Linked DNA regions of Homo sapiens: region 2 is linked to region 1. The links are contacts of gene promoters, found by promoter capture Hi-C in human tissues and cell types (Jung and others, 2019). All regions are on one chromosome and are shown on one strand. The core of a region is centred on a gene start or on the middle of the fragment in contact, and the rest is flanking DNA. Distances in the headings are between cores, read along the strand shown. Region 1 holds the start of NAGA (alpha-N-acetylgalactosaminidase). Region 2 overlaps TCF20 (transcription factor 20).

Evidence for each region. Contacts are between HindIII fragments. The study calls those that stand out against the background at their distance.
Region 2: a contact is called between a fragment that was not itself captured here and the fragment with the promoter of NAGA in region 1, in 1 of the 25 tissues and cell types used here (dorsolateral prefrontal cortex).

Annotation. Positions count from the first base shown.
Region 1 is chr22:42,067,816-42,072,875 of GRCh38, reverse strand. NAGA (alpha-N-acetylgalactosaminidase) reads left to right here and starts at 2,064. Exons shown (of 9, transcript NM_000262.3): 1 at 2,064-2,594; 2 at 4,302-4,437; 3 at 4,940-5,060. The coding sequence starts at 2,579. RefSeq lists enhancers at 1,754-1,803, 4,159-5,028, 5,029-5,060, 4,763-5,060 and a silencer at 1,984-2,283. The HindIII fragment of the contact is 6,054 bases long and covers 1-3,547 here.
Region 2 is chr22:42,252,718-42,257,791 of GRCh38, reverse strand. All of the region lies in intron 1 of TCF20 (transcription factor 20), which reads left to right. Among named protein-coding and RNA genes, the nearest start is that of TCF20, 15 kb to the left of the region's middle. The HindIII fragment of the contact is 7,259 bases long and covers 1-5,074 here.

The sequences.
Region 1 (5,060 bases), core at 815-3,314:
GGAGAGGCAGCCAGAATTAGAATGGCTGTTGAAGGTAGAGAACACAGGATTTGCTGAGGAGTTGGATGTGGGGAGTGAGGGAAAGAGCAGGCAGGACTGCACAGTTTTGGCTTGAGCACCTAGGAGAGTTGTCATTATCTGAGATGTGGAAAGTGGCCGGTGCTTGGTCTGGGTTATGTTTGAGACACCCAGTGGCCATCTGAGTGAAGGTGCTGTTGGGGCTCAGAAAGCGATGCCTAAAAATATGGCACTTGGGCATGCTGAGTACTTTGAACCAAAGGACACTGGAAGAGCCTCAGAAGCAAAGTATCTCTCTGACCTTCTCCTGCCCCCCTTCTTTCTCCTGTTTTTCTCCTGCAAGGCAGGCCATAGAAACTAAAAATCCTCCTCCCTAAGGTGAGTTATAGCAACTACAAATATTGGCTGGGCACAGTGGCTCATGCCTGTAATCCCAGCACTTTGGGAGGCTGAGGTGGGCGGATCACGAGGTCAAGAGATCAAGACCATCCTGGCCAACATGGTGAAACCCCATCTCTACTAAAAATACAAAAATTAGCTGGGCATGGTGGCGTGCGCCTGTAGTCCCAACTACTTGGGAGGCTGAGGCAGGAGAATCGCTTGAACCTGGGCGGCGGAGGTTGCAGTGAGCAGAGATCGCGCCACTGCACTCCAGCCTGGTGACAGAGGGAGACTCTGTCTCAAAAGAAAAAAAAAAAGAAAAAAAAGTAACTACAAATATTACTGGAAACATCCCCCACCTTTCTGTGTCGGGCCTGGCCATAAAGGAATTCTCTGATCTACCTTGCCTGATACTAGGTCATAAGACTCTCATTCCAGAAGGGGTCCTGCCCTCCTCCCAGCAGGAGGGAATGCCACACAGAGAGAACAAGAAGAATCCGAATCTGAACAGACATTGCTGGGTTTCCACACTCAGCTATTAACATTAAATCATTCCCTTTTGTCTAATCGCGTTTATACACAGTTGTCCATTCCTTATTCCTTTTTTTTTTTTTCTGTTGCCCGGGCTGGAGTACAGTGACACAATCACAGCTCACTGCAACCTCGACCTCCTGGACTCAAGCAATCCTCCCACCTCAGCCTCCCGAGTAGCTGGGACCACAGGCACCTGCCTGGCTTTTTAATTTTTTGTAGAGACAGGGTCTCACTATGTTGCCCAGACTGTCCTTAAATGTCTGGCCTCAAGCGATCCCCCTGCCTCAGCCTTCCAAAGTGCTGGGATTACAGGCATGAGCCACCAGACCCGGCCAGGGCTGTCCATTCTTCATCAAACCGAGACATAAAAATAAAGATTTCCCTGAGTATTTGTGTCTTCATTCCTGAAGGCTCTCAAGTCACATAAAACATTGAGTAAATCAATCTATTATGCTTTTCTCTTGCTAACCTATATTTTATTTGTAGGAGTGTCCGCTGTGACCTTTGGGATGAGTAAGGGAAAATATCACACCTTTCTGCCCCTACAATGCCCAGAACAAAGCATTTGGCACTTAGCAGTTTCTCAATAAATACTTGATGAATGAATGAAGAAGGAAGTAGCCCAGTCTGTGCGAGTAGTCCCTGAGCGTCAGGCGGGGAAGGAGAGCCGGCTGCCTTTGCGGGAGCTGTGACCGCCTGCTTTGGTGCCTCCCACGCACCCTCCTTGTAGAGACGATTAATCCCAGACTTCCATTTTCCTAGCAGCTCACTAGGCGGGCCTTGCTTCAGAGCAGTCTCTCATTTCCTCTGCACAAAGCCCTCAACCGTCCTCTGCACGGCCGCTTACTGAGCGCCCACGGTGAGCCTGGCACGATCCTTGCCCTCTTGGTCCCCACAGAGGTGGAAGGACAGGCCTCGCGGGGTCCGGGCCACGAAGGACAGCCCCGAGTCCGTTCTGCCAATGCCTGCCTCGCTAGCACGCAGGGCGGGAGCCCAGTGGGGAAGGGCTTAGGGAGGCTGGGAGGCCGGACCCATATGGGCGGGGCACAGCGTTGCTAGGGGGGATTCTGATAGGTTGCGCGAAGGGTTGCCTTCGTGAGGCCCCGCCCTCACTGGAACGCTTCGGACTTATCAGGTTACCGGATTCGAGTCAGAAGCGGCGGCAGGTCTGAACGCTTCGGTAGGATAAGTGCGGTGGGAGGGGGCTCTGCGGTTTTGGGGAGCCCAGGGCGGGAACCCGGACCCGGCTGGAAGTCCGGAGCCTGGCCGCAGCCCCGCCCCTCCGCTCTTTCTTGGTGACCTTAAGCCAGTGGCTGCCTTTTTCTGAGCCCGGGCGGGGCCGAAGGCGGCCCGTAGGCCCTCGGGACTCCCAGCACTGCAGAGGGTGTGAGGTCTGACATCCAAGACACGTTGTTTCGTATTTCTGAAGGAAGAACTGAAGCTCCGGGAAGTGATGGCTGGGGATGGGGCGGGCAACTTGGGGACCGAGTGTACGATCCACGCCTAAGGTTGAGGGCGGCCGAGCTAGCCAGGCAGCCGTGACCCCAGTGCTTTTCAGACGTTTCTTAGCTTCCAGAGCCCAACACATACAGCTGATACACGCAGACCAGATCTGGTCAGGTCCTCGGAAGCTGAGTCCAGAGCGATGCTGCTGAAGACAGGTACCTACACCGGCTGGGGTGGCTTGGAAGGGTAGGGGTGAGTGCTACAAGGAGTGCTTTGGCCCTTCTTCCCTAATGTGGGTATGTGGAGAGACAGGTTCCTCTCTCTTTTACTTAGAGCTGGGCAGGAAGGGAGGAGATGCTTCCCCATACGGGAATCATTTCTCCTTCAAAGGGGCCCTTCCTTTCTCACTTCCTCTCCCTCAAGCACAGAGGCCCTAACTGATGGATATCAGCATGTGCGGAGAACCGCCTGTACAGTCCCTACAGTAACTCCATATTACAGATAAGGAAACTGAGGCCCGAGGGGGAAAGGTCTCACTTAGGTGAGCTGATTGGGTGCCCATCCTGGCTGGCTTACTTCTTAAGCCTCTCTGAGGCCTCTTGAGGGTCTGTGGTAGAGAGCAAAGAGCTCTGGACTGGGGCTCAGGAGACCTGGAGTCTGGCCAATGGTCCCGACTTAACGATTTTTCAACTTTACTGTGGTGTGAAAGCGACGCACATTCAGTAGAAACCACAGTACGTATACAACCTGTGTTTCAGTATTCAGTAAATTGCATGAAATATTCAACAATTTATTATAAAATAGGCTTTGTGTTAGATGATTTTGGCCAGCTGTAGGCTAATGTGCGTTGTCGCACTTTTTTTTTTTTTTTTTTTTTGAGACGGAGTCTCACTCTGTCACCCAGGCTGGAGTGGAGTAGAGTGGCGCGATCTCGGCTCACTGCAACCTCCATCTCCCAGGTTCAAGCAAGTCTCCTGCTCAGCCTCCTAAGTAGCTGGGATTACAGGCACTCACCACCTCACCCCGGTATTTTTTTGTAGTTTTAGTAGAGACAGGGTTTCACCATATTGCCCAAGCTGGTCTTGAACCCCTGACTTACGGTGATCCGCCCACCTCGGCCTCCCAAAGTGCTGGAATTACAGGAGTGAGCCACCGTGCCTGGCCTGTCCACATTTTTAAGGTAGGCTAGGCTCAGCTATGATGTTTGCCAGGTTAGGTGTATTAAGTACATTTTTGACATAATATTTTCTTTTTTATTATTTTGGGATGGGGTCTCGCACTGTCACAGCCCAGGCTAGAGTTCAGTGGCACGATCTCAGCTCACTGCAGCCTCCGCCTCTGGGGTTCAAGTGATCCTCTTGCCTCAGCCTCCCGAGTACAGCGCATGCCACCACGCCTGGCTAAGTTTTTGAATTTTTAGTAGAGACAAGGTTTCACCATGTTGGCCTGACCTCAAGTGATCCACTCGCCTCGGCCTTCCAGAGCGTTGGGATTACAGGCATGAGCCACTGCATCTGGCTGATGTGATATTTTCAACTTACACTGGGCTTATGAGAACGTAGTTCCGTGGTAGGCCTAGGAGCATCTGTACTGTTAAGTTCTATATATGGGATGGGAGGAGCTGATGGGGGTTATAGGAAGGTTAGGACATAAGGTGTTAGTTTTGCTAATTCCAGCAATGCTGTGGTGACGGCCAGACCTCAAGCCACTGCCTGGCCCAGGCACCATCCTCCCACTTACTGCTTTGCAAGAGCCAGCCATTGCAGGAAGAGCCAATTCTACCCTAAACCCAGGAGTCCAGTTTCCCTTATATATAGGCAGGCAGCCTCTGTAGGGCTGAGCAACATACAGATGGGGTGGGATGAGGGCTGGAGCTGTGGGGGCAACTGATAGTCACCATCCCCTCCTCCCTTGCCCCCTAGTGCTCTTGCTGGGACATGTGGCCCAGGTGCTGATGCTGGACAATGGGCTCCTGCAGACACCACCCATGGGCTGGCTGGCCTGGGAACGCTTCCGCTGCAACATTAACTGTGATGAGGACCCAAAGAACTGCATAAGGTGAGTAAGGTCCACACTCACCTGATGAGCCTTGCCCAGGGCCCTGCAGATTCGGGGGCAGGAAGTGGAGAGTCCACTAGAAAAGAGGGCAAGGTCAGAGTTCTCCATCCCAGAGACTGCAGCCAGAAGTCACTCGGACTGTCTGACACCTAGCCCCATGACCTGTCTGGAGCCTCTGCAGGGACTCTCAGGCCCCAACCTGGTCACGAGGCAGGGACCTTACATGGACCCAGCCCCTGAGATAACTCTTAGAAGGTCAGGCCAGGCCCCCTGTACTTCCCCTGACCCAGTCCTGCCTTTTAGCCTGGGGCCAGCCACTCCTTTCAAGCCAGCTTGCTTATGGCTCATCGCACAATCTCTGGTGGTCATTTACACTGATACCTGGCTTAGGGCTCAGCAAGGTCATGGTTTTTATAGCCCAGATTCAATCAGAGCTGAGGCAGGGTGTGGGTGAGGGCCGGGCTGGGTCCCTGAGCTACCCCATCCCTCTGCCCCTCACTAGTGAACAGCTCTTCATGGAGATGGCTGACCGGATGGCACAGGATGGATGGCGGGACATGGGCTACACATACCTCAACATTGATGACTGCTGGATCGGTGGTCGCGATGCCAGTGGCCGCCTG
Region 2 (5,074 bases), core at 1,254-3,753, 180 kb before region 1:
GGCCTGGCTGGGGTAGAAGTGAGGGTCATCCTCTTCTCAACTCCAGCCAGAGCAGCTCATCATCTCTCTTATCTTTTGGGTATATCAACATAAGATTTTTGCTGAAAAAAGACTTGCAGAATATTTTCAAACACCATTTCACTAGGCTCTAAGGTCCTTATAGTCAGGGCTGTGTTTTGCTTTTATAGCCCCATCATCTGCATTGTTGCCTGCCAGTGCATTGAGAAAGAATGTACCATTTTGCCTCTGAGCCTCTGCTCTCTAATACTTCTCCCTCCTTCCCATCTCTAGCCGTATATTAGAGTTAAAATAGAATGTGTCTGTTTCATCGCAAATTTGTATATTCTTAGGTGATCACCATGTCTTATTAATCTATGTCTTTGTGTCCTGTTCACATAATTCTATTAAAGTAATGTTGAATTTGGATTTGTTGTAGAAAACTTGCAAAGCTCTTCTAAGAGTAACTAAAATCAGTAAAGAATAGGGGAAAAAATCCAGAGAAAATATAAGCAGGAAAACCATAGCAGACAGGGTCAGATGGAATATTAGCGGTTTAGGTGAAGAACCCAGAGAACCGCCTGCCCTGTAAGGAATGCTGGGTATTTCTCCTGGAGGGTTTTATTTTAATTTTTGAGACAGGATGTTGCACTGTCACCCAGGCTGGAGTGTGGTGATACAGTCATGGCGCACTGCAGCCTTGAGTTCCTGGACTCAAATGATCTTCCTTCCTCGGCCTCCTGAGTATCTGCGACTACAGGCACATGCCACCACACCCTGCTAATTTTATTTTCTTTTGTAGAGATTGGGGTCTCTCTATGTTGACCAGGCTGATTTTGAACTCCTGGCCTCAAGCAATCTTCTTGCCTAGGCCTTCCAAAGTGCTGGGATTACAGGCATCAGCCACTGTGCCTGGCTCCTGGAGAGTTTTAGAACAATAAAATAGAATTGTTACTCCATGGCAGAAGTGTAGAGAACATGCCTGCCAGATTCCAGCCAGATGACTCCTATAAACACAACATACAGTCAGTGTAAATGAACCTAAACAGATTTACCAGTACCTGTACATTACTAAACAGATGTAAATGAAAAGATACACTATGCATTGAACTTAATGCTACTTTTTTGTTTTTTGTTTTTTGTTTTTCTAGTAGATGTGAGTTTAAATATAGCAGGAATAGGATTTTCATCTTCTCTTGTTGAAAGTCTTCGTGGAAGTGGATTTAAGTTCTAGCATATTCAGTAGGAGAAATTTGAGCTGGAATGAAGGACATCACAGCCTGCATAATTTGTTAAATGTCTCTTTAAAAAAAAAAAAAAAACTTTGCTACATTGGCTAGCGCATGTGCTGAAAGTTGGCTTCCCCTAAAGATAAGGGACACAGGCCAAATGAAGCCTATGGGAATGAAACACATCAGAGAAAATAAAAGAAAAAAGAAAATTTCTGTTCAGCCAAGTTTGCTAAGTAGTTGCCATGCTAGGCACACACACACAAAAATCAAATAAAACACTTCACTTTTCCTTAGAGTTCAGGGTCTGTGGGAGAGTCCAATATGGAAAATTAACATTTATCAAACGTATGAATGATTGATAAGGCTGTAATAGTGGTGTAGCTGGAGTGCTGGGGAGAACTAGGCAAGAGGCTGCTCCCTCCTGATCAAGTATGGGAAGAATATTGGAGAAGCCGGTAGAGGAGGGAGCATTTGGGTAGACCTTGAAGGATGGACGAGAGAGAGAGACAAGTGGAAGAGTGGAGAAAGAGCATTCCTAAGAGAGGTCTTTTGGGAACCAAGGCTCAAAAGTATGTAGCATATTATCAATCAAACCCTGGGCCCTTAGGCTAAGGGCCTAGAGATGACAGAGGGGAAGGTCAGAAGGGAGCGTGGGCCTAATAGTATGAGAGCAAGGTGGGAATAGCTTTGAACCTGGGGCTGGGGCACTTGAGTCTCATAAATGGAACAAAGTTTTGTGAAGAGAGGTGTGAATACATGGTTGGGGGCGTTGTTCTGACTGAGGAGAGATGGTGGTGGGAAGGAGAGGGGAGGGCCGGAAACAGATGATGAATTGATCATCTTGGCCTCTTACTGTTCTGATTTTCTCATGCCCAAAGCCCTAGTCTGCATAAGAAGGATCTGTAAAATTTAGCAATTGGTTTAAATAAAATGGATTTACAGGAAATTTTGGCATCAACCCATGTTGATTCCAAAACAGGTCGGCAAGCATATTTTATTTACCCAAACATTTATAACAATAAATAATGTGGTTTTGTTGTTGTTGTTGTTGTTGTTGTTGTTGTTGTTGTTGTTTGAGATGAAGTCTCACTCTGTTGCCAGGTTGGAGTGCAGTGGCGCGATCTCAGCTCATGGCAGTCTCCTCCTCCCGGGTTCAAGTGATGCCCCTGCCTTAGCCTCCCAACTAGCTGGGACTACAGGCACGCACCACCAAGCCCGGCTACTTTTTTTTGGTATTTTTAGTAGAGACGGGGTTTTACCATGTTGGTCAAGATGGTCTCGATTTCCTGACCTCGTGATCCGCCCGCCTTGGCCTCCCAAAGTGCTGGGATTACAGGCATGAGCACCATGCCCAGCCAACATTGTGAATATTTTTATATAAACAATAAATTCCAAGGGCCAGGACTTGTTCTAAACATTTGACAAAAAAGTTAGGAGATAGTGTTATTACCTCTGTTTTTCAAACGAGAAAACTGAATAACGGAGGTTGAGTGACTTGCCCAAGGTCACCCAACTATTAAGTAGCAGAGCCAGGATTGGGAATTGGGAAAAACTCTCACCTCTAATCATGTTTTTCCTCTACCTTTTTTTTTTTTTTTTTTTTGAGACGGAGTCTTGCTGTGTCACCCAGGCTGGAGTGCAGTGGTGCCATCTCTTCTCAAGCTCTGCCTCCCAGGTTCACGCCATTCTCCTGCCTCAGCCTCCAGAGTATTTGGGACTACAGGCGCCCGCCTCCACCCGCGGCTAATTTTTGTATTTTTAGTAGAGACGGGGTTTCACTGTGTTGGTGAAGATATTCTCGATCTGCTGACCCTGTGATCTGCCTGTCACGGCCTCTCAAAGTGCTGGGACCAGCTCCTTTTGGATTTTTATGGAAGTTTCCTGATGTCAATTTCTTCTCCCAGGGTATAGGGCTGGACGCCCTCTGAGGAGGGTCTTAAGAGCCACAGTCTGAGAGGTGGGAAAGGATTAGAGTCCTGCCTTAGGGCAGGTGAATGGAGGACAGGTGAGAGATTGTTTCCCCAGGCCTTAACATACCCAATATTATAACAAAACACTGTTACAAGGGCTGGACAATACCCAGTATATATCATGATACCACAGGCACCCTGGCTCTGGACTCTGTGCCCTTAACCTGTACCCTGTGTGAATGTTTAATTTAAATGAGCTGGAATATAACTTGCAGGATAAGTTTGTGGCCATTTGAAGAGGAAGAGTTTAGTTTTGGATTATAGAAACAAAGAAAAAGAAAGTGGAGTGGAGCTGGGAAGTACCATCCTGGGATCTACCTGGGAGAATAGTCTGCTGTGTGAGGGCAAGGACTTGTCTGTTGCCCATCATATTCCCAGCATCTAGAACAGTGCTTGATATGTAGCTAATGCTTAGCAGATATTTTTGAGTGAATCAGTAAATAAAATTTCGCTGCCAGCTCTCAAAGGAATATGCTGTGGAAGCTTCAGTTACTTTTTTTTTTTTTTTTTTTTTTTGAAAGGGAGTTTTGCTCTTGTTGCCCAGGCTGGAGTGCAATGGCACGATCTCAGCTCACCGCAACCTCCGCCTCCCGGGTTCAAGCGATTTTCCTGCCTCAGCCTCCCAAGTAGCTGAGATTACAGGCATGCGCCACTACACCCGGCTAATTTTGTATTTTTAGTAGAGACAGGGTTTCTCCATGTTGGTCAGGCTGGTCTCAAACTCCTGACCTCAGGTGATTCTCCTGCCTGGCCTCCCAAAGTGCTGGGATTACAGGCATGAGCCACCATGCCCGGCCTCTTCAGTTACTTTTTTCTCTTTGGTTCATGGTTCAGGATCCTTTCTGAATTAATAAATTTATTACTTGTTTTTACTAAACTTATTTTGTTCAGCTTTTCAAGGAATGCCAGTTCACTCTACTGTTTTCAGGGTTTTTAAAAAATCAACTTGCTTTCAAAATCAAAATATTAGATTTTAACATTCCAGCATAAATCTTTTTATATAAATAAAACTTTTGTTGATGCTTTTGGTTTTTCATACGCCTATATTTAAGGGGTAAATCTTGAAAATATTACTAAGGAATTGGAATTGACATCTAATTATAGTAGTTGAGATAATATATTTATGTAATCCCTTTTAGAGAAGTTTAATAAATATTTTTCAACAGACAAAGCATTATCTCTACTTTATTTTTTTTTCTATATTTTGATACTAGCCCGTCCTGTATCTGTTGAAGAAGCTTTCTTAGTGATTCGTTAGGAAATTCTCTTTCTGGAACCCAGTGACAGTGCAACTCAAGTAGCGTCTCTACTAATGTGAAGTCACAACACTGATCATGTAGAACTCATGTATCTGATTTCATTAGCAAATTAGTAGATGGTGTAGGTTTCTAAGGAAGAGTGAACTAATGCATTCTCTTTGCTTTAGTTTACATTAAATCATTAGGGAATAGGGAAATAGGAAATTTTTTCTTTTGCCACTTATAAATGAATAAAGCCTTAGTTTTTGTTTTGTTGTTTTTTTCCTATGGCCCCCTGTCACTTGAAGGCCTTAGTTTTATAAACCAGTATTTTGCTTCTCTTATTGACCTGATTCAGTTTATTAGCCTTTTATTAAAATATATACTATATACTTCATAATATTTTATTTTTGTTAAACATTTGACTCTACTAAATTAAATATTTGAAAAAATCTCACTATAACAGTATTTTTATTCTAGAGTTAAAATGGTTGTATGAAAATAGTTATTTTTGTTAAAATAGTTTTATATATAGGGATAATTATATACGTTTAAAAATGCCAAGATTGTTACTCTAGTGTTTCAGTTAAAAAAGCTTTTAAAGGCTGGGCACCGTGGCTCACACCTGTAATCCCAA